Linked DNA regions of Homo sapiens: regions 1, 2, 4, 5 and 6 are each linked to region 3. The links are contacts of gene promoters, found by promoter capture Hi-C in blood cells and fetal thymus (Javierre and others, 2016). All regions are on one chromosome and are shown on one strand. The core of a region is centred on a gene start or on the middle of the fragment in contact, and the rest is flanking DNA. Distances in the headings are between cores, read along the strand shown.

What was found. Contacts are between HindIII fragments. The CHiCAGO score rates a contact against its expected background, and 5 or more counts as called.
Region 1: a contact is called between a fragment that was not itself captured here and the fragment with the promoter of SPTLC2 in region 3, in 2 of 17 cell types (activated CD4 T cells and naive CD8 T cells). The highest score is 5.1, in activated CD4 T cells.
Region 2: a contact is called between a fragment that was not itself captured here and the fragment with the promoter of SPTLC2 in region 3, in 1 of 17 cell types (naive CD8 T cells). The highest score is 5.8, in naive CD8 T cells.
Region 4: a fragment that was not itself captured here is called in contact with the fragment with the promoter of SPTLC2 in region 3 in 1 of 17 cell types (neutrophils); the score reaches 7.1 in neutrophils.
Region 5: a fragment that was not itself captured here is called in contact with the fragment with the promoter of SPTLC2 in region 3 in 1 of 17 cell types (naive CD8 T cells); the score reaches 5.8 in naive CD8 T cells.
Region 6: a fragment that was not itself captured here is called in contact with the fragment with the promoter of SPTLC2 in region 3 in 2 of 17 cell types (activated CD4 T cells and neutrophils); the score reaches 5.1 in activated CD4 T cells.

Annotation. Positions count from the first base shown.
Region 1 is chr14:77,035,335-77,038,369 of GRCh38, reverse strand. No RefSeq gene overlaps it. Among named protein-coding and RNA genes, the nearest start is that of LINC02288, 4.2 kb to the left of the region's middle. The HindIII fragment of the contact is 222 bases long and covers 1,631-1,852 here.
Region 2 is chr14:77,014,624-77,017,560 of GRCh38, reverse strand. No RefSeq gene overlaps it. Among named protein-coding and RNA genes, the nearest start is that of IRF2BPL, 13 kb to the left of the region's middle. RefSeq lists an enhancer at 2,519-2,937. The HindIII fragment of the contact is 763 bases long and covers 1,079-1,841 here.
Region 3 is chr14:77,614,948-77,618,086 of GRCh38, reverse strand. It overlaps SPTLC2 (serine palmitoyltransferase long chain base subunit 2), which reads left to right and starts at 1,450. Exons shown (of 12, transcript NM_004863.4): 1 at 1,450-1,639. The coding sequence starts at 1,508. RefSeq lists silencers at 1,024-1,083, 1,414-1,463, 1,604-1,803 and enhancers at 1,123-1,655, 1,984-2,193. The HindIII fragment of the contact is 6,254 bases long and covers 1-3,139 here.
Region 4 is chr14:77,088,011-77,091,129 of GRCh38, reverse strand. No RefSeq gene overlaps it. Among named protein-coding and RNA genes, the nearest start is that of CIPC, 8.7 kb to the left of the region's middle. The HindIII fragment of the contact is 8,703 bases long and covers 1-3,119 here.
Region 5 is chr14:76,814,648-76,817,472 of GRCh38, reverse strand. No RefSeq gene overlaps it. Among named protein-coding and RNA genes, the nearest start is that of ANGEL1, 3.2 kb to the right of the region's middle. The HindIII fragment of the contact is 1,698 bases long and covers 721-2,418 here.
Region 6 is chr14:76,938,272-76,941,518 of GRCh38, reverse strand. No RefSeq gene overlaps it. Among named protein-coding and RNA genes, the nearest start is that of LINC01629, 20 kb to the left of the region's middle. RefSeq lists an enhancer at 1,080-1,580. The HindIII fragment of the contact is 5,193 bases long and covers 1-3,247 here.

The DNA.
Region 1 (3,035 bases), core at 492-2,991, 580 kb after region 3:
GGGAAGTGGGGGCGGTAATCTGCGGGCATGATGTGGGGTGGGGGTAGGAGAAGGAGGAAGAGGAGGGGGCAGCCTCCAGGCCGGCCCCAGCTAACCCTAGTAGAGGCCGCCCCCCCACCCGCCGGAAAATGCAAGTGCCCCTCCTTGGGGCGCGTGGTCTGGGGGTGAGTCAGGTTTCCTGCCCTTAAAAATGTGAGCAGACAGTATATGCTTTCTTGCTTGTCACTTCACAACGTCCAGGGAACGTCGGAGGGACATCAAGGGCCCAGGGAGAGGGAAGGAAGAGGAGGGGAGGAGAGAGGAGCCCGCGCATCCCTAGGCTTTGAACCCATTTCAAACGCTCTGGGCGTTGCAAACCAGGTGCGCTTGTGCACAGACTGCTTGTCCCAAAAGGAAACCGAGGCAACCACGGGGGAGGCTGGGTAGGGATGGTGGTGGTAAGAAGTATTTTAAAGCGGAACAAGGAAAGCCAGAAGATGTTTAAAACAAAAGGAGAGACTATTGTTCAGCGTCGGAGGTCGCTGGGATGGAAGCTGTAGGCAAGAAAGCTGGCTGCGGATTTTGCAGTGGGTTTATTGTGTGGGCAACCAGGCAGAAAGCGGGAATATGAAAAAGTGGGGAGGGGGAGAGTTGGCGTGAAGGAAAATCAGTGCCTAGAAAGCTGTGCACGCTGAAAATGTCACCAAGGAGAGGGCAGTGGCACCGAATAAAAGATGAATAATCGGCTACCTTTTGGAAAAAGCAATGTAAAAATATTAATAAAGGCGAGAAGCCCGCTTCTTCTCAGCCTGAAAAGCAAATCCATTTCTCACCTCCTGCCTCTCCTCCCCATCCCAACACACACAAAACACACACATACACACAGCTCTTCTCTGCCCTGCATCCAAGAAGCCTCGGCTAGGCTCGCTTTCCTTTGGATTTAATTACTCGAAAATGCTGAACAAAAACCTGTAATTACACCCTTAGTCCCTGCCACTCAGGCCCAGTACACTTCCTGCCTAGTTTTGTTTTTTAAAGAAGAGGTCATTGCCTCTTTTCTTTCCAAATTGGCCAAAACAAAAAAAAAAAGTAAAAGCCCTAAATAAATCCAACTGCTCCGAGCTTCACTGCCACCACCAGGGATTTGGGGAGGGGATATCCTTGTCTCTCTAGGAGAGATGAGAAACAAACAGCCTAACCTTGCTATTGTCTTTCTCCAGCTTTTAGGCCTAAAGCTTGTCATTGCTTGTTTGTCTGCCAGCCCAGAAGGACATGGACATGCTAGATTGGCCCCCCAGGAGGAGGCCCTCCAAGGGCAAGATGAAGAGAGTGGACAGGGCTTAGCGGCAGGCCTGGCTTTCCACCCATTTTACCTCGAAGGGCTTAGCGCTGGAAAAAAGATTTGTCACAGTGTCTCGCCTTTCTACAGCCCTAGGCATTAACATACAGAATTTCATAGCAAACCCCTGAAGTAGGGAGAACAGGTTTTAATATCAACCTTTGACAGGTGAAGAAATGGAGTCCCAGAGAGAATAAATAGATTGCTCTAAGTCAGTCATGTGGCTGGTGGGAGTATTGAAAAAGCTCTGCCTCTTATGACTTTTGGGCTATTGCATCAGGAAAGTAGGACACCTAGGAGGAAATGGAAGCTTCTAGATTCTGGGCTACAGCCAGTCTGGCTTGGTTCATCCAGCACTGAGATAGAAAGTGTTCCCTAAATAAATAGTTGAATAACTGAATGAATGGTAAATGGAAGGGCACTGGTTAGGGAGTTGGGGAACAGAAACCCACCAGGCCATCTGGTAGCCAAGTTTCAGCTTCGAAACAAAATGTAAGTACTGAGAATAGTTTCACACCAGGAACCTATCAAGCTTACTCTTCTGTGTACGGCCAGAGAGGGGAGTTCAGGTTAAAGTATGGTGGTCCTCTACATGTGTTGGAGGGGTCACTTTGTTTCCGGGCTTTCTTGCTCCAGTGATGCCTAGGCCAGATTTGATGTCAGAGCTATACACCTACCCTTGGCTAGAAGTGCTTTTTTTTTTTTCTCTTAAGAGATGAAGGCTGGGTGCGGTGGCTCACACCTGTAATCTCAGCACTTTGGGAGGCTGAGGTAGATTACCTGAGGTCTGGAGTTCGAGACCAGCCTGGCAAACATGGTGAAACCCCATGAAACAATATATACAAAAATTAGCCAGGCATGGTGGCAGGCACCTGTAATCCCAGCTACTTGGGAGGCCGAGACAGGAGAATCGCTTGAACCCAGGAGGTGGAGGTTGCAGTGAGCCGAGATTGCGCCACTGCACTCCAGCCTGGGCGTAGAGTGAGACTCCATCTCAAAAAAAAAGGTCTTGCTCTGTCACCCAGGGTGGAATAGTGGAATGCAGTGGTGTGATCATAGTTCACTGCAGTCTTGAACTACTCCTGGGCTCAAGTGATCCTCCCACCTCAGCCTCCCAAGTAGCTGGCACTACAGGTGTGCACAACTGCACTGCACCTGGTGGCCAGAAGTGCTTTGAGGACTGTAGCCTGCCACAATCATGTGGCCCCTAGCCTAAGGACAGGACAGTACATGTTGGGTGAGTGTCTATACAGCTGGTGTGACCCGTATAAGGTGGCGCACGTTACTTATGTGATATGACTTTTGGGTATGAGAAGAGGCTCCTTCCACTATAAAATGCACTCTCTTCATTTTCCTCCTTGTTTATTGTTCAGCCTGGGGTCTTTCTCAAGAGTGCACAATGAAAATGCTGCTGTCCTTGGTAAGGGTATCTCAGTAAATTCCTAAATGCTTCAGTGAGTTCTAGAACTTCAGATTTTCCTCCATCACCTCTGCCAAGGACCGGGGTATAGAAAAGGCAGGAAGAGACCAGATGCGGTGGTAATCCCTGTACTTTGGGAGGCTGAGGTGAGAGAACTGCCTGAGCCCAGAAGAGACAGGCCTGGGCAACATAGTGAGATCCCCGTGTCTACAAAAAATAAAAAACTAAGCTAGGTATGGGGTGGTGCATGCCTGTAGTCCCAGCTACTCCTAAGGCTGAGGTGAGAGATCGTACCAC
Region 2 (2,937 bases), core at 211-2,710, 600 kb after region 3:
AGTGAGCAAGGCTATCTACAGGCAGGGCTGTCAGGAAGCCCCTTGGGGAGAACACTTTCTAGGTTCTATGTTCATCTTTAATTATTTTTATTTTATTATTATTATTATATATATATTTTTAGAGATAGAGTCTCTGTTGCCCAGGCTGGAGTGCAGTGGCGTGATCTCAGCTCACTGCAACCTCTGCCTCCAGGATTCAAGCGACTCTCCTGCCTCAGCCTCCCGAGTAGCTGGGATTACAGACGCCTGCAACCACGCCCAGCTAATTTTTGTACTTTTAGTAGAGATGGGATTTCTCCATGTTGGCCAGGCTGGTCTCTAACTCCTGACCTCAAGTGATCTGCCCACCTCAGCCTCCCAAAGTGCTGGGATCACAGGCGTGAGCTACCGCACCCGTCCTAGGTTCTATGTTCTGAGGGAACACAGTGGAGCTGTCCAAGCAGTATTTCCAATCAGGGATTCTGGAGCAGGGCTGTTCTTCTGAAGTCGTCCTCAGTTGCCTCCTACCCTCAAACTTAATTTAAAAATGAGCTTACCTCTGTCTCATTTTTGATGGAACAGAGAGATGACAGGAAACAGGCAGTGGCCCTGATTTGTAAGGTATATTGCTTCTGTGGGGAGTATCTACCCCACTAGCTGGTGTCTTCCCTCCCAGTCTTGCTTTTTTTTGAGACAGAGTTTCACTCTTGTTGCCCAGGCTGGAGTGCAATGGTGCAATCTCGGCTCACTGCAACCTCCGCCTGCTGGGTTCAAGCAAGTCTCCTGCCTCAGCCTTCCAACTAGCTGGGATTACAGGCACACACCATCATGCCTGGCTAATTTTTGTATTTTTAGTAGAGACGGGGTTTCTCCGTGTTGGTCAGGCTGGTCTTGAACTCCTGACCTCAGGTGATACGCCTGCCTCGGCCTCCCAAAGTGCTGGGATTACAGGCGTGAGCCACCGTGCCTGGCCTCAGTTTTGTTTTCTTCAGGCTGAAATGCTGGTCAGTTACCTCTTGGGCGTAGCTTGATTGTCCTGCCTCTTTGGGGGTCACAGGTGTGCATCCACCAGGTCTGGGGTGCTGGATCCAGGAAAGCTTACCTCTCTACATGGGAACTATAATTGTGGCTCCCAGGTTTAGGTTAGACTCGAGAGAAGTGTCCCAACTCCTGACTGGTCTCCCGTAAGCTCTGGTGTCTGCCCACTTCAGGCCATGGCTTTGTAGCAGAATCCATTTTTTTTCTACATCTGAGCAAGTCACACCCTTGCTTAGAAACCTCCCTTGGCTCCCTGTTGCCTACAGGGTAAGTCCAAATTTCTTAGAACAACAATCAAAGCCATCATCCACCATTTCGCCATCCCAGGAGTTTGTTTATTTATGTATTTATTTCAAAACAGAGTCTTGTTCTGTTGCCCAGGCTGGGCAGTGGCACAATCCTGGCTCACTGCAACCTCCGCCTCCCAGGTTCAAGTGATTCTCCTGCCTCAGCCTCCCGATTAGCTGGGACTACAGGTGTGCACCACCACGCCCGGCTAATTTTTTGTATTTTTAGTAGAGACAGGGTTTCACTATGTTGGCTAGGCTGGTCTCGGACTCTTGACCTCAAGTGATCTGCCAGTCTCAGCCTCCCAAAGTGCTGGGATTATATAGGCGCAAGCTATCGTGCCTGGCCCCAGGAGTATTTTAATTTTAAAAAAGGTATTAGATACACATGGTAAAAGAAAAAAAAATCAAAGAGCCTGAGAAGATACTCAGAGAAAAGTAAGTCGGTCTCCTTCTCATTCCAAATCTCCAGTTCCCCTGCACTGTGGGCAGTTATTTCGTGTACATGTTCAGCAGTATTAAAAGCACAGAGAAGCTTAGATCTATAATATATGTCTCCTGAGGGCAGATCTTAGGACAAGCCAGGAAAAGCGGAAAGGTCCAGGACAAGGAACTGGGCTTGGGTCAGACAGAGCCCCAATCTGGGTCTGGGGGCTGATGGAAAGTCAGCAAGATGCCCCCTGCCCCCACAGCCAAGGATTGGTTCTGGTGCATCCTAGGCTTCTGGGCAAGGAGTGTGAGTGAGTGAGTGTGTGTGTGTGTGTGTTTGTGTGTATCTTTGGCCCACAGGCCCACATCCAGGGCATTCACATCCCTGTGTTTAGCTGGGTGCCCTGAGCAGCCCCTGGATGACTGGACATTCTCTGGAAGGACTTGGGGGAAGAAGTGGGGCAGTGTCTATGGAGGCCAGCTATCCCAACAGCGTCCAGAGCCTTCCTTACCAATAGCCTCATTCCCCTCCCTCTCCCACCAGCCACAGCAGCTCGTGGAGGCTGTCAGAATTGTACTCCTAGGTCACAGACAGGGATGCTGTGGTTGAAAGAAAAGACTGAAGGAGAGACATTATTATTATTATTATTTGAGGCAGAGTCTCACTCTATTACCTAGCCCGGAGTGCAGTCACGCACTCTTGGCTCACTGCAGCCTCCATCTCCTGGGTTCAAGTGATTCTCCTGCCTCAGCCTCCTGAGTAGCTGGGATTACAGGCAAGTGCCACGATGCCTGGCTAATTTTTGTATTTTCGGTAGAGACAGGGTTTCAACATGTTGGCCAAGCTGGTCTCTCACTCCTGGCCTCACGTAATCAGCCGGTCTCGGCCTCCCAATATGCTGGGATTACAGGCGTGAGCCACCATGCTCCATGGGAGAGAAATTATTGACTGTAGACTTTGGAACTGACAGTGGGCCAGGCACTGTCATATATGACTTCTCCTTCATTATGGTAAATCTTTGAGGCTGGTCGTGGCCATGATTCTCCTTTGAAAGGAAAATCCCCACAGTAGGTCCTATTATTGGTCCCATTTCATAGACAGGCAATCGAGACAGGGGTAAATAACTCACCCCTGCCTGGCTTCACTCCTCTTTGTCACCTGAAGGACAGTTCACACCCTCCCCTCACTCTGCCCCCACACCTC
Region 3 (3,139 bases), core at 201-2,700:
CAGATGTATATTCACTTTGGGATCAATAGTGTTTGTCAACTCAAATAGGATGTGTGGGATGAATGATCCCACCTTCTGTTAGATTATTCAGCTCCTAAGTCATGCAAAACCAATACCTTGTGGACCTCCTTTCTAAAGCTCCTGCAGGGTGGGGAAAGAATGCACGGATTCTCATAGGTGCATTTAGCAATTACTAGTAACCAACACTTAATGAATGCTTACTAATTGCTAGGTCCTGTACAAAATACATTACATACATAAACTTATTCAATCTTCACGACAACTATTATTGTCCCCACTGAACAGATGAAGACACATAGAGGTCACTCAGCTAGTAAGTGGCGCAGCTAGGATTTAAAACCCAGACCGACTCCAGAGTCCATACTCTCAATTATGATACTAAATTCTTTATGGATAACAGAAAGTCTCTAATTGTAATGTAGATCAATTTCCTTGCTTTCTAACCCCATGGGAAGATGGAACTAAAAGGGTGAGAAAATAATATTTATTATACTCCTACTATAAGCCTAGTATTATAAGAGGTGCATAATGGGTTAATGATATAATTCTTGCTGTAAGTCTATGAAGCAGGAAGTATTAACTCCATTTTAAAGAATTTGGCTTCTAAAGTGGTTAAACACAGTGCTCAAGTTTTAGCTTCCAGTTATTGGCAGAGTTGGAATTAGACCAGGTTTTCTAACTTTGAAGGAAAGACTTAATTTAAAGGAGACTGTATAGAAAACCCTGCCAAGGGCAAATGTGAAGGGCACGTGAAAAGGCATCTGAATTATTACTTATAATAATTCAGAAATAGTGAATGTGTGGCGCATATTGAAGAATGATGAGAGATTGTCAAAAAATCTATTCTATAAACACTCACAGAGGAATCAGCTAATTAAATAAGCGAGCTGCCTGTCTTGGGCTAGGACATAAACTCCAAAACTTCCCACGAGGCAAGGGCAAAGAGGGCGCCACCTGTCCTGGAGAACCTGGGAACCCGCTCTAGAGACTTCGGCTCAGCCCCTTTTATTTCCTCACACTCTAATTGGCTACTTTTCCCTGGGCTCCGCCTCCTCCTCGGTCTGGACCATTAAACAGGCAAGCCCTACCCCGGACCTGGATGCGGCCTCCAATCAGGTGCCAGGCCCTGGAGTCCCTCTAGAGAAGCCCCCTCTCCACCGGCGAGGCGCTTTGCTCTCGTCCGTGATTGGCCAGGCAGCAGCATGGGGTCCGCCTCCTTCTCTTCCAGATTGGTCAGCGGTCCTCAGGACCACATCCCTCTCGGCAGGTCCCCGCCGCTTTTTCCCTTCGCTGCGTGGCCTTGGCCGAGACCGGTCCTCTGCGGAGAGGGCCCCGCCCTCTGTGAAGGCCCGCCCGGGAATTGGCGGCGGCGCTGCAGCCATTTCCGGTTTCGGGGAGGTGGGTGGGGTGCGGAGCGGGACTTGGAGCAGCCGCCGCCGCTGCCACCGCCTACAGAGCCTGCCTTGCGCCTGGTGCTGCCAGGAAGATGCGGCCGGAGCCCGGAGGCTGCTGCTGCCGCCGCACGGTGCGGGCGAATGGCTGCGTGGCGAACGGGGAAGTACGGAACGGGTACGTGAGGAGCAGCGCTGCAGCCGCAGCCGCAGCCGCCGCCGGCCAGGTACGAGGGGCCCGCGCGGCGGGGCCGGGGTGGCGGTGTGGACTGGCGGAGGGGCGGCCGGGCGGGGCGAGGTCTCCGGGCCATCCGCTGGGCAATCCGCGGGGCGGGCGCCGTTCGCAGGTGTGGGCGGCAGTGTCCGGCCGCTGGCCCGACCTCCACGAGCCTGGAGGCTCAAGGACGGCTCGGGGGCTCCCCACCTCTCCGCGCCTGGAGGTCTTACTCCCGGAGCTCTGGGTTCTGCTCAGAGCTCCGGGTACTTTTCTCTGCCCCATTCTGCCAGAAGTGTGTGCTGTCCCCAGGGGAAGCGATGAGGGGCCCTTCGGACTCCAGTGGGAGCCGCCCAAGGGCTCCGGAGGGTCCCTTCTCAAACCCCTGAGGTTATTGCTTCCTTTTAAAGTCCTGCAGTCGTCCAAAGAAAACCACCCATGGGGTCCTTAAGAAGCAAAGAAAATTAGGCGGTGGTGTCAGATGGAAACACACCCAGCCTCTCCCAACCACATTCTGGACTACCACGTTCAGTCCCCAACCAGGACATTGGTCCATAGATCTGGCAGGGAATCCAAGCTGGTCCCTCGAAAGCATCATTCTCTTAACTCTGCCGGTGGTGAGACTCTACCCCAGGCTCCAGGTTGGATTAGGTGGCCCCTTCGACCCTTTCCTGAACACGAGTGCTATCACACAAGGGGATTGTTTAGCCTGGTGGTGACTTGCGATGACTCTATACTAATTAACCATGCTGAATCATCAACCAAGTTCAGGCAGTTCTAAAATATTTTGAAAAGTTCTAAATTCAAGACAATGCTTATTATCAACCTTACAGTGGTCTGGACTGACAGATATTCTGTTGAAATGTGTTTTTAAAGATGAGCTGGTTAAAAAGATGCAAGATCGGTGTTCCTGGAAGAGAGTGTTGCGATAATTTTGCAGTTGACTTTAATACGTTTAAGTCTTGTACAGATATTAAGGAACGCTTAGAAAGTACTCTGTTTCCCTTTAGCGGGAGTGTGACTGTTGCAGTTTGATAGGATGGTGATCTTAATTTGGCTTTAACATAACTACTCCCCAGATGAGTAGTTATGATGGATAGGTCTGTTACTGTTTGCTGCGAAGCAGAAAATAAAGCATTTTTCCAGGTCATGTTGAGATATTGAGACTGAGTTGAGGGGAAAAATAAGTAAAGCAGACTTGACCTCCCCTGAAGTTGTAAGGTGTCAAAGCGAAGTAATACACAGATCAAAAGATTTGTTTTCACTTTTAAAGAAATAATTGTGTGAGGGAGGAAGTGATAACAGTCAGCTCATTATAAGCAGTGGAATAGTTTGTCGTTTTCCTAGCAATGTAAACGACTTATAAGACAAAATTGTTGTGGTATAGAATGTAATAGGGAAATTTAACGGGTAGGAGTTAGAAAATACATTTGCAGGTGAATTTCATTGAGGTATGATTTTTTTTTTGTTTTTGTTTTTGTTTTTTTTTTTCAGACAGTTTTGCTCTTGTCAC
Region 4 (3,119 bases), core at 132-2,631, 530 kb after region 3:
CAAACTATTCAGAAGCTGCCTTGTACCTGTTAGACCCTCATCCTGAATCTTTTTAGTGGAAAGACTTTTAAAGTATTTCCCCCAAAAGAGCATAAGGAACTTCACCCTAAAATATGGCTCCTAGATATAATGAGTATTTTGAGTTAAAAGCCCTTAGAGATCAACAGATGTTGGAAAAGACTTTTCCCTTATCTACATAAAGATTGGATAGACCCTACAAGGAGAACAATTGTTTCCCAGCCCCTGCCCCTTATTATCTATTTTCTTTTCGTTTATTTTTTGAGACATTGTCTTGCTCTGCCACCCAGGCTGGAGAGCAGTGGCATGATCTCAGCTCACTGCAACCTCTGCCTCCTGGGTTCAAGCAATTCTTCTGCCTCAGCCTCCCGAGTAGCTGATATTACAGGTGTGTGTCGCCACATCCAGCTAATTTTTGTTTTTTGTATTTTTAGTAAAGACGGGGTTTTACCATGTTGGTCAGGCTGGTCTTGAACTCCTGACCTCAAATGATTACCTACCTCAGCCTCCCAAAGTGCTAGGATTACAAGCGTGAGCCACCTTGAATTTTTTTTTTTTTTTTTTTTTTTTTTTTTTTTTTTTTTGAGACAGAGTTTCACTCTGCCACTTAGGCTGGAGTGCAGTGATGTGATCTTGGCTCACTGCAACCTCCATCTTCCTGGGTTCAAGCAATTCTCATGCCTCAGCCCCCTGAGTAGCTGGGATTACAGGCATGCACCACCACACCTAGCTAATTTTTGTATTTTTAGTAGAGACGGGGTTTCATCATATTGGCCAGCCTGGTCTCAATCTCCTGGCCTCAAGAGATCTGCCTGCCTCAGCCTCCCAAAGTGCTGGGATTACAGGCATGAGCCACCGTGCCTGGCTTCCTCCTCTTATTATCTATTGCAGAAAAGACCAAGAATGTAACCACACCTGAACAGACTCTTTCACAAGATGATGTCTCTCTTGCAGACTCACTCAGACAACCATTTAGAAATTAATCTCTGTTCCTCAATCCATTCATTCTCCCTAGCAACCATTTATTGCCAATCAACAGAATTACCTGTATTCCCTATCTCCCCCCTCCACCTGAAATAAGGCTATATGGACCCCATTGGGCAGTGGGGTAAGCACTCTGTGGTTCTCCCTGTTTGCACATTAATACATTTGTACGCCCTTTCTCTAATCTTCTTTTGTGAGCTGATTTTTTTGGCAAACTTTCAGAGGTCGAAGGGGAAGGTTTCTCTTTGCCCCTATACTCCTTCCCCAACTAAATACGAAGTCGTCTATTTATTGAGATGAGAGTCTCTTTGTCACCCAGGCTGGAGTGCAGTGGCATGACCTGGGCAATAGTGCAGCCTTGACCTGGGCTCAAGCAATCCTCCTGCCTCAGCCTCGCAAGTAGCTGGGACTACAGGTGCATGCTGCCACACCCAGCTAATTATTTTTTAAAGATGGGGCCCTCCTATGTTGCCTAGGCTGGTCTTGAATTCCTGGCCTCAAATGATCCTCTCGCCTTAACCTCCCAAGTAGCTGGGATTACAGGCACAAACTACCATGCCCGGCTTTGAAGTCTTTGATTTAAACTCACACCTTCTCTCTCTCTAGGCCACCCAGAAAGCTGTTCACTTGCCCCTTTGTGTGGAAGCATTTGATTTTTGGCTTGGAGGTTTGCCTTGGCTTCATATCTTGCCTCATAGGTTTACCTCCCTTCTGTCAACAGCCTTTGGATCCCAGTTGAGTTCACCAGCATGGGATTAACAAAAGACAGGGAACACAGACCACCACAGCAGAAAGCCCAATGGAATTGGAGCTCTTTAGTGGAACTTGTTGCTTCAGTAATAGGAAGCTGACTACAAAGACCAAGATTAGGAATAGCCTCCATATAGAAATTATTTACAAAAATTGAGTACTTTGTGTCTTGTAGCTTGATCTAGACTGGCTTGTTTTGTAATTTCTTGCGTACTTCTCTGTCTCCCTCACTGGAGTCTAAACTCCTTAAGGGCTGGGATTATATCTTAATGGTTTTCTCCCACAAAGTAAATTCTGCATAGTAGATGTTCAACTAACTTGCTATCAGTGGGACCCAAACTTCCTGAACATTTAACAGTGGGCTCACATATCACTGAAAGGACTCCAGAGAAGGAAAAGACACCATGAAGGAGGGGAGTGAGTAGCTTCCGTGGGCACAGGTGCACAGGAGCTCGTCCCTATTCTTTTGTCAGTTCCCTGACATGCTCCACTCTCTGCCACCTCCAGGCCTTTTGCACACACCTGTGTATGGCCACTGGGGAAAGGAGGAATGAAAGTAACTGTGACTCCCACAGGTTTTGCTCTACACTTGTCATTCTGGCAAAGAAATCCCAGAGCCTGCATTGTTCCTCCCACCCCTCTGAGTCATTGGAGGGTCTTTTCCATTCTGAAATTTACTCAAGAATGCTCTTGAATCCTCCTCCTTTATGTTTGATTTGGCTCATGGCTGACTCTATTTGGAATTCCATGAAGAATCTTATAAAACCTAGTAGTCAGTAGAGATATAGTGGCTGTACTTTGCAGACCGAGATATACCCAAGAATGTCATATGCCAGTACTCCTCTCTCCAGCCCCAGGGAGTCTGGATGGGCCTTTGTCAAGTTTCACTTCACAGGATTGGCCAGCTGGGCTTGTTTAAGTCAGCACCAAAACAGGTTAAACAGGCTCCATATGTTGGGTTGAAGCCACGCCCAGTTGTTCGTCAGAACTACCTGGTTGATTTTATCTCGATTCAGAATCTGCTTTCTTCACAGCCAATTGCCTGATTGCAGAGTCTAAGGTCTCAAAATTAAATCTCAAACAGGAGACTGAAAAGCAAGCAGTCAATTTGCAAAGACTTAAATATAATATTGCGGTGGGGATGGGGCATGTTGAGACTCAGAAAACAACACCCCAAACTGAAGGCCTCAGAAAGCAGCCTCAAAAGCAAAAGTTTTTCTCTGACCTTCTCCTGCCCTCCTGTCTCTCTATCCCATTCTGTCCCCAGGCCAGCCATAGAAACTAGAATCCCTCTTCCCCAAGGCGGGTCAGAGAAACAGAACCCCTTTTCTCCAAACCATAAAACCTAAAAATAATTTTCCTTCCAC
Region 5 (2,825 bases), core at 320-2,819, 800 kb after region 3:
AGTGAGGAATTGTAGACAGCAGCTGCAGACAACTCTTGCAAGAAGATTGGCTGTGAGAGGTGGGAACGCAGGGGCTAGCTGGAGGGGACCTGGCACTGAAGGAGGGCTTCTTGACAGGAGTGACTTGAGCATGCTTAAATGTTGATGACAAGGGGTCAGTGAAGGAAAGGAGAGGGGTAGTAGAAGGAACATCATCTCAGAGGAAGGGGGAGGGGGTCCGGAGCATGGTGGAAGTGCCAACTGCTGTGTTGGGAGAAGAGGAAAAGGTGGTTAGAGATGCTGGTCAATGCATTGTTGTGGCAACAGGGAGTAGAGAATTTACACTTGGTGGCTCTATTTTTTTCTCTAAAGTTGATGGGGAGATAATCTCCTAAGAGCAAGAAGGGAGGCAATAGGGCAGAAAGTTTGAGAAGAATAATCATTGTGAGAATGGGAGAGAAAGCTAATTAAAGAGCATAGAATTGCTGGGGAGGGTTGCGAGCAGAAGAGAGGTTGGAGACTAGCACACTAATGGCCTCAATCTTTGGGGTTGGTAATTTTATTCATTGTTGCTCAGCAGCCCAGATGTAAGAGCCAAGAAGAATAGTTTTACTGACCCACGCAGATATAATCTAAGAACAGTGGGCAGGAGAGTTGATGATATTGGGAAGAGTGATTTAAAAGAGGGGTCATGGGAATTCCATGTTGGATAGGGAAAGAAATGATGACTGAGGGAAAGCTTGAGAAGGACAGACTAGAGAAATCAAGGGTCTGATGGAGTTAAAAGAAAAGATGAAGTAGAAGTGGGAGAGGCAGAAAGCCATGAGAAAGCCATGCCATCAGAGTGGGTGTGTGAATTTATGATTTCAGACGGGAAACAGTGCCCAGTAATGACATATCCAAGGTGCAGCCAGGGAAGGGTGTGTCTGAAGCACATGGAAATGAAGGTCATTAAGGAGGTCATGGCAATGAGCTTCCAGGGGTTAGGATGGCTCATCCACACTGGTGACAGGAGGACTAGAGGTAGGGAAGAAGACTGTGAGTCCAGGGCTGAAGTTTCAAGGAATCGAGGAGTGGGCAGGAGGTCAAGGAAAGTCAAGGGTGAGGTTGGGGTAAACATTGATGACTGCCTGATAAATCTCTAATGAACACATGGATGCATGAATCAGTGAATAAGTGAGCAAATGAATGCATTAATTCAGACTAATCTGGCACATTCTGGGAATGCCTAGTCATAAATCTTGAGATTCCCAAAGAAAACACCAGGCTCAGAGAAGGCAGATTACTAGGAGTGTAGAGGCCTCAGGTTATCGTAAGAGTTGAAGATGAGCAAATCTTTTCAGCCTATCCTATCTGAGAAGCTGTTTGCACTCTCCAGAACAGCCCATGTTCAGTACGGTAGCTATTAGCTCCTTGCAGTATTCAGAACCTGAAATACGGCTAGTCCAAATTCAGATGTGATGTCCAAGTAAAATACACACTGGATTTTGAAGACTTAGTACAAAAAAAGAACATAAAATATCTCATCTTGAACTATTGATTACAAGTTAAAATACAAAATTTTTGGATCTATGGGGTAAAATAAAATATTATTAATTAATTTCACTTGCTTTATCAATTGATTTATTTTTACTTTTTACATGAGGCTACTAGAAAATTTTAAATTGCATATGTGGTTCACAACATATTTCTTTTGGGCAGCACTGTCCCAGGCGTTGGTCCGTAGCCTCTGTAATCCTGAAGAAAGCACTATGCCGCCCCAATATTTGCACATGTTCAACCAATAAGTTAATAAATGCAGCCACTCTGTTGGAATTCCACATATATTTGTTGTCATAAGTAAAATTTTAGCCCTCAAGGGCTTAAATTTCTTATAGACTGGAAATGTCCCTTTAAGAGAGCATCTTAAGTCTCTCAAAGTATTGCAAAACCTCCCACTTGCTCCATTACATAGGTTCTGCACCCTGGAAACCATGGTAGTGATGGATGCAGGTGCTCATACTTGTCTTCATTGTTAGCACAGCTGGAATGAATTGAGGGAATCGTCTCTCTTCTTGGGATATTTCTGAAACAATGAGGCTGGAGACTGTGCAGATTGCACTTGTAATTTTCCTCTGACTGGGGAAGCCTAAGGCTCCACTCCTTCGGCCAAGTCTCCTTGGAACCTGTAGTTATTGGCTTGCTTAGTAATACTCATTACAATTTGGAGGGCAGGAGCTCTATTTTAGCCAGAAATTGTGGAAGAAGATCCTACATCAGCCACGTCTGGAGCTGCTTTTCTGCCCAAATCCAAAAATGTAATAGTAAACATTGAGAGTTTATACTGGGTCAGGCACAATGAGGAAACTGAGGCCCCAAGAGCTTAGGCAACCTGAGAGATTCCACAGGTAAAAAGTGGCAGAGCCAGGATTTCAACTCAGTTGGTCTAACTCCAAAGCTTGTGATCCTTATATCACCCTACACCTTCCAACACGGCTGATTATGGACCAGGAAACAAAAAGAGGGAAGCCTCACTTAACTGGCCGCAGAAAAAGCCTCTGAAAGAACATAGATCAGTTGGGCTGACACATTGTGCCCACACTGTGCACTGAACAGCCCAGTTGAGACTGGATCCTTTAGCAGAGGTTCCCAAACCGTGCATTGGAATAAGTAAGTGTTTAAGGGCCTCATTCCAGGGCTGCTAAATCAGAACTCTGGGAGTAGGGCCTAGAAATTTGTATTTTGAAAGCATTTTCCCAGTGGAGATAAGGGAACCGTTACCCTTGATTAGGATCTGATTTGGAACTTGGACTTCTGGATAACTCATGGTACAAAATGGAAGGAGGGTACAAGGAGGGTTTTACTTA
Region 6 (3,247 bases), core at 117-2,616, 680 kb after region 3:
GTCTAAGTTTTCATATCTGGAAAATGGGGATAGAACAATATCTACGTTCTGTGAGAATGGAGTGAAACGATGGACAAGACAAGCCTAGCACAGTTCTGGCACACCGTAGGTGCTGGATGAGTTTTCTCCTAGAATTTTCTTTTTTCTCCATACTCTCCCCTCTGTTACCGTCTGTAGAAGTGGAATTGCTTACCAGTGGTGGGGATGCTCTTGTAGGGAGAACGAGATCCTTCTGGTTCTGAAATATCCCTGCCTTTGCTGACAAGATTACAAGCCTGTATTGCTTTTTGCTTTTTTTTTTTTTTAATTGAGACAGAGTCTTACTCTGTCACCCAGGCTGGAGTGCAGTGGCTCACCGCAACCTCTGCCTCCTGGGTTCAAGCAATTCTCCCACCTCAGCCTCTAGAGTAGCTGGGATTACAGGCGCCCGCCACCACGCCCGGCTAATTGTGTGTGTGTGTGTGTGTGTGTGTGTGTGTGTGTGTGTGTGTGTGTGTGTGTGTGTGTTTAGTAAAGATGGGGTTTCACCATGTTGGCCAGGCTGGTCTTGAACTCCTGACCTCAAGTGATCTGCCCGCCTCAGCCTCCCAAAGTGCTGGAATTACAGGCGTGAGCCACCAGGCCCGGCTGTTTTTTTGTTTGTTTTTTAGAGACAGGGGTCTCACTTTGTCACCCAGGCTGGAGTGCAGTGGTGCAACCATAGCTCACTGCAGCCTCGATCTCCTGGGCCCAGGTGATCCTCTCACCTCAGCTTCCCAAGTAGCTGGGACCACAGGGGTGCGCCACCACACATTGCTAACTCATCATTTCTATTTTTATTTTTTGTAGAGCCAGGGTCTTGCTATGTTGCCTAGGCTGGTCTCAAACTCCTGGGCTCAAGCAGTCCTGTCTTGGCTTCCCAAAGTGTTGGGATTGCAGGCATGAGCCACTGCACGCGGCCCAAACTTGTATTTTGTTAACATAAATAAATGATAGAGAAGGCAGGCGAGAAGCGTAGCTGCCAGGCTGTGGGCCCACTGTAGCTGCCCACGCTTTCCAGTGGGTGCTGTGGAAGGGGAGGTCCTAGGTGGGGTGGGCTCCCTACCTCCCCTGACTGTGGCCCCGCAGCTGGGGAGGGATCTGGAAAGGGGATCATGGGCATGGTGATAGGAGACTGGTATTCCAGACTTCCCAGGTTGGGAGCCCAGTTGAGAGAGGAGGGGGGCTGGATGGGAGCCGGCCCTGGGGGAGATGGGGAGGGGCTAGGGGCCATTTGCTCTTCCAGCCAGCTGACCCTGTTATTTTTAGCCCTGGAATGCTCCTCCCAAGCCCCCTTCACTTCTATTTATCTTGCTTTGGAGTCTTGGTTCTTTCCCAGAAATTCCACATGAGGGGAGGCAGAGGGGATTGAGGGTGCCAGGAAGAATGGGACACACTGGCTGGGGCTGGGCTGAGGAAGAGGAGGAAGCTGCTCTCCTTCTCCCCACCCCAGCCCAGAGGCTGCCTTTTCCTCCTTTCTCCATTTTGGCTGGAAAATGGAAAAAACCTGGCTCAGAGAACACTCAGCTGTCACCAAGTTATCCTTCCTTCTTCTCAACCACCCAGATGAGACCTCCATTGTCCCCAGCCCAGGCCTTGGCTGCCCATCCTCTCACTTTTCCTTCAGGGAGCTCAGGGGACGGTTGGGGTGGTCAGGAAGGGTTTGCCTTGGAACCCGTAGCTGTGCATCAGGACACACTGGGGGTCCCTGGAAGGAGTTCCTGTGTGAAAATAAAAGAAGGGCCAGGTGTGGTGGCTCACGTCTATAATCCCAGCACTTTGGAAGGCCGAGGCGGGTGGATCACTTGATCCCAGGAGTTCGAGATCAGCCTGGGCAACATAGTGACACCTCATCTCTACCAAAAATTAAAAAAATTAGTTGGGCATGTTAGCACGTGCCCTGGGAGGCTGAGGTGGGAGGATTGCTTAAACCCGGGAGGTCGAGGCTGCAGTGAGCTGTGACTGTGCCACTGCACTCCAGCCTGGGCAACACAGTGAGACCCTGTCTCAAAAAAAAAAAAAAAAAGAAGAAAAGAAAAGAAAGAAAAAAAGAGAAAATGAACAGAATGAACAGGGGCAGTTAGAAAAGAATTGGTATGAATGCTGGAGGTTTTCTCAGCACTCCCTGAGCTTCAGTTGCATCCTCTGTAAAATGGGAATGACAACAGTTCCCTCTCTATGAGGGATCTGCTGGGGCATGAGCTGGTGAATAGATGGCACCATTTACACGTGGAAACCACTCCATCAATGTCGCCAGTGCTGGCAGGATGGGCCAATCCCAAGGCGGGTGTGCTTTTGGGTACTGATGGGGCCTGAGCCTCCTGAAGGCCACACCCCTCCCCAGCCTACTTTAGTTGCTGTCAGGCTGCAGAGTGCTCTGCTCTGGGCTCTTGGTGTTTTTCTTTTTTTTTTTTCTTTTTTTAAATTTTTTTATTTTTATTTTTTGAGACAGTTTTTCCTCTTGTTGCCCAGGCTGGAGTGCAATGGTGTGATCTCAGCTCGCTGAAACCTCCGCCTCCTGGGTTCAAGCGATTCTCCTACCTCAGCCTCCCGAGTGCTGGGATTACAGGCATGTGCCACCACGCCCTGCTAATTTTTTGTATTTATAGTAGAGACGGGGTTTCTCCATGTTGGTCAGGTTGGTCTCAAACTCCCGACCTCAGGTGATCTGCCCGCCTCGGCCTCCCAAAGTGTTGGGATTACAGGCGTGAGCCACCGCACCCAGCCTGCTCTGGGCTCTTGTTACAGGTGAATGTCACTCACTGGCAGCTCTCCCTGCTCCCCCCAGCACAGGGGTGAAAGTGGGCAGTAATTCTGGGATAAGGGACACTTTGAGGCAAGGTAATCCCCTCCTGCCAGTCCCTGGAGGAGAGGAGGGGAGTGTGCCTCTGAGGCTCCCCAGCAGGGTGGGCACGCTTTCTCTTCCTGTCCTGTTCTCCAAGCCTCCTTGTGGGAAAAGTCCATCAGCCCTTAGGGAGGGCCGGGCATCACCTGGAGCTGGCGCTAGGGAGAGAGGCCAAGGCAGTCAATGAAGAGCCTTGGTGGGCCCAGTGCTGAAGGAACGGTGGAATATTCTGGTCATGAGTCAGTCAAAAATGGCCAAGCTCCAGGCCTGGCGGTAGCCTTGGGGGTCTATGTGTAGAAGAGAGGGTGGACATGCCTGGGCCAGTTCTGGATAAAGGCAGGGGATGGGGAAAGCCATCTGGGGCAACCACTGTCCCCCTGGCAT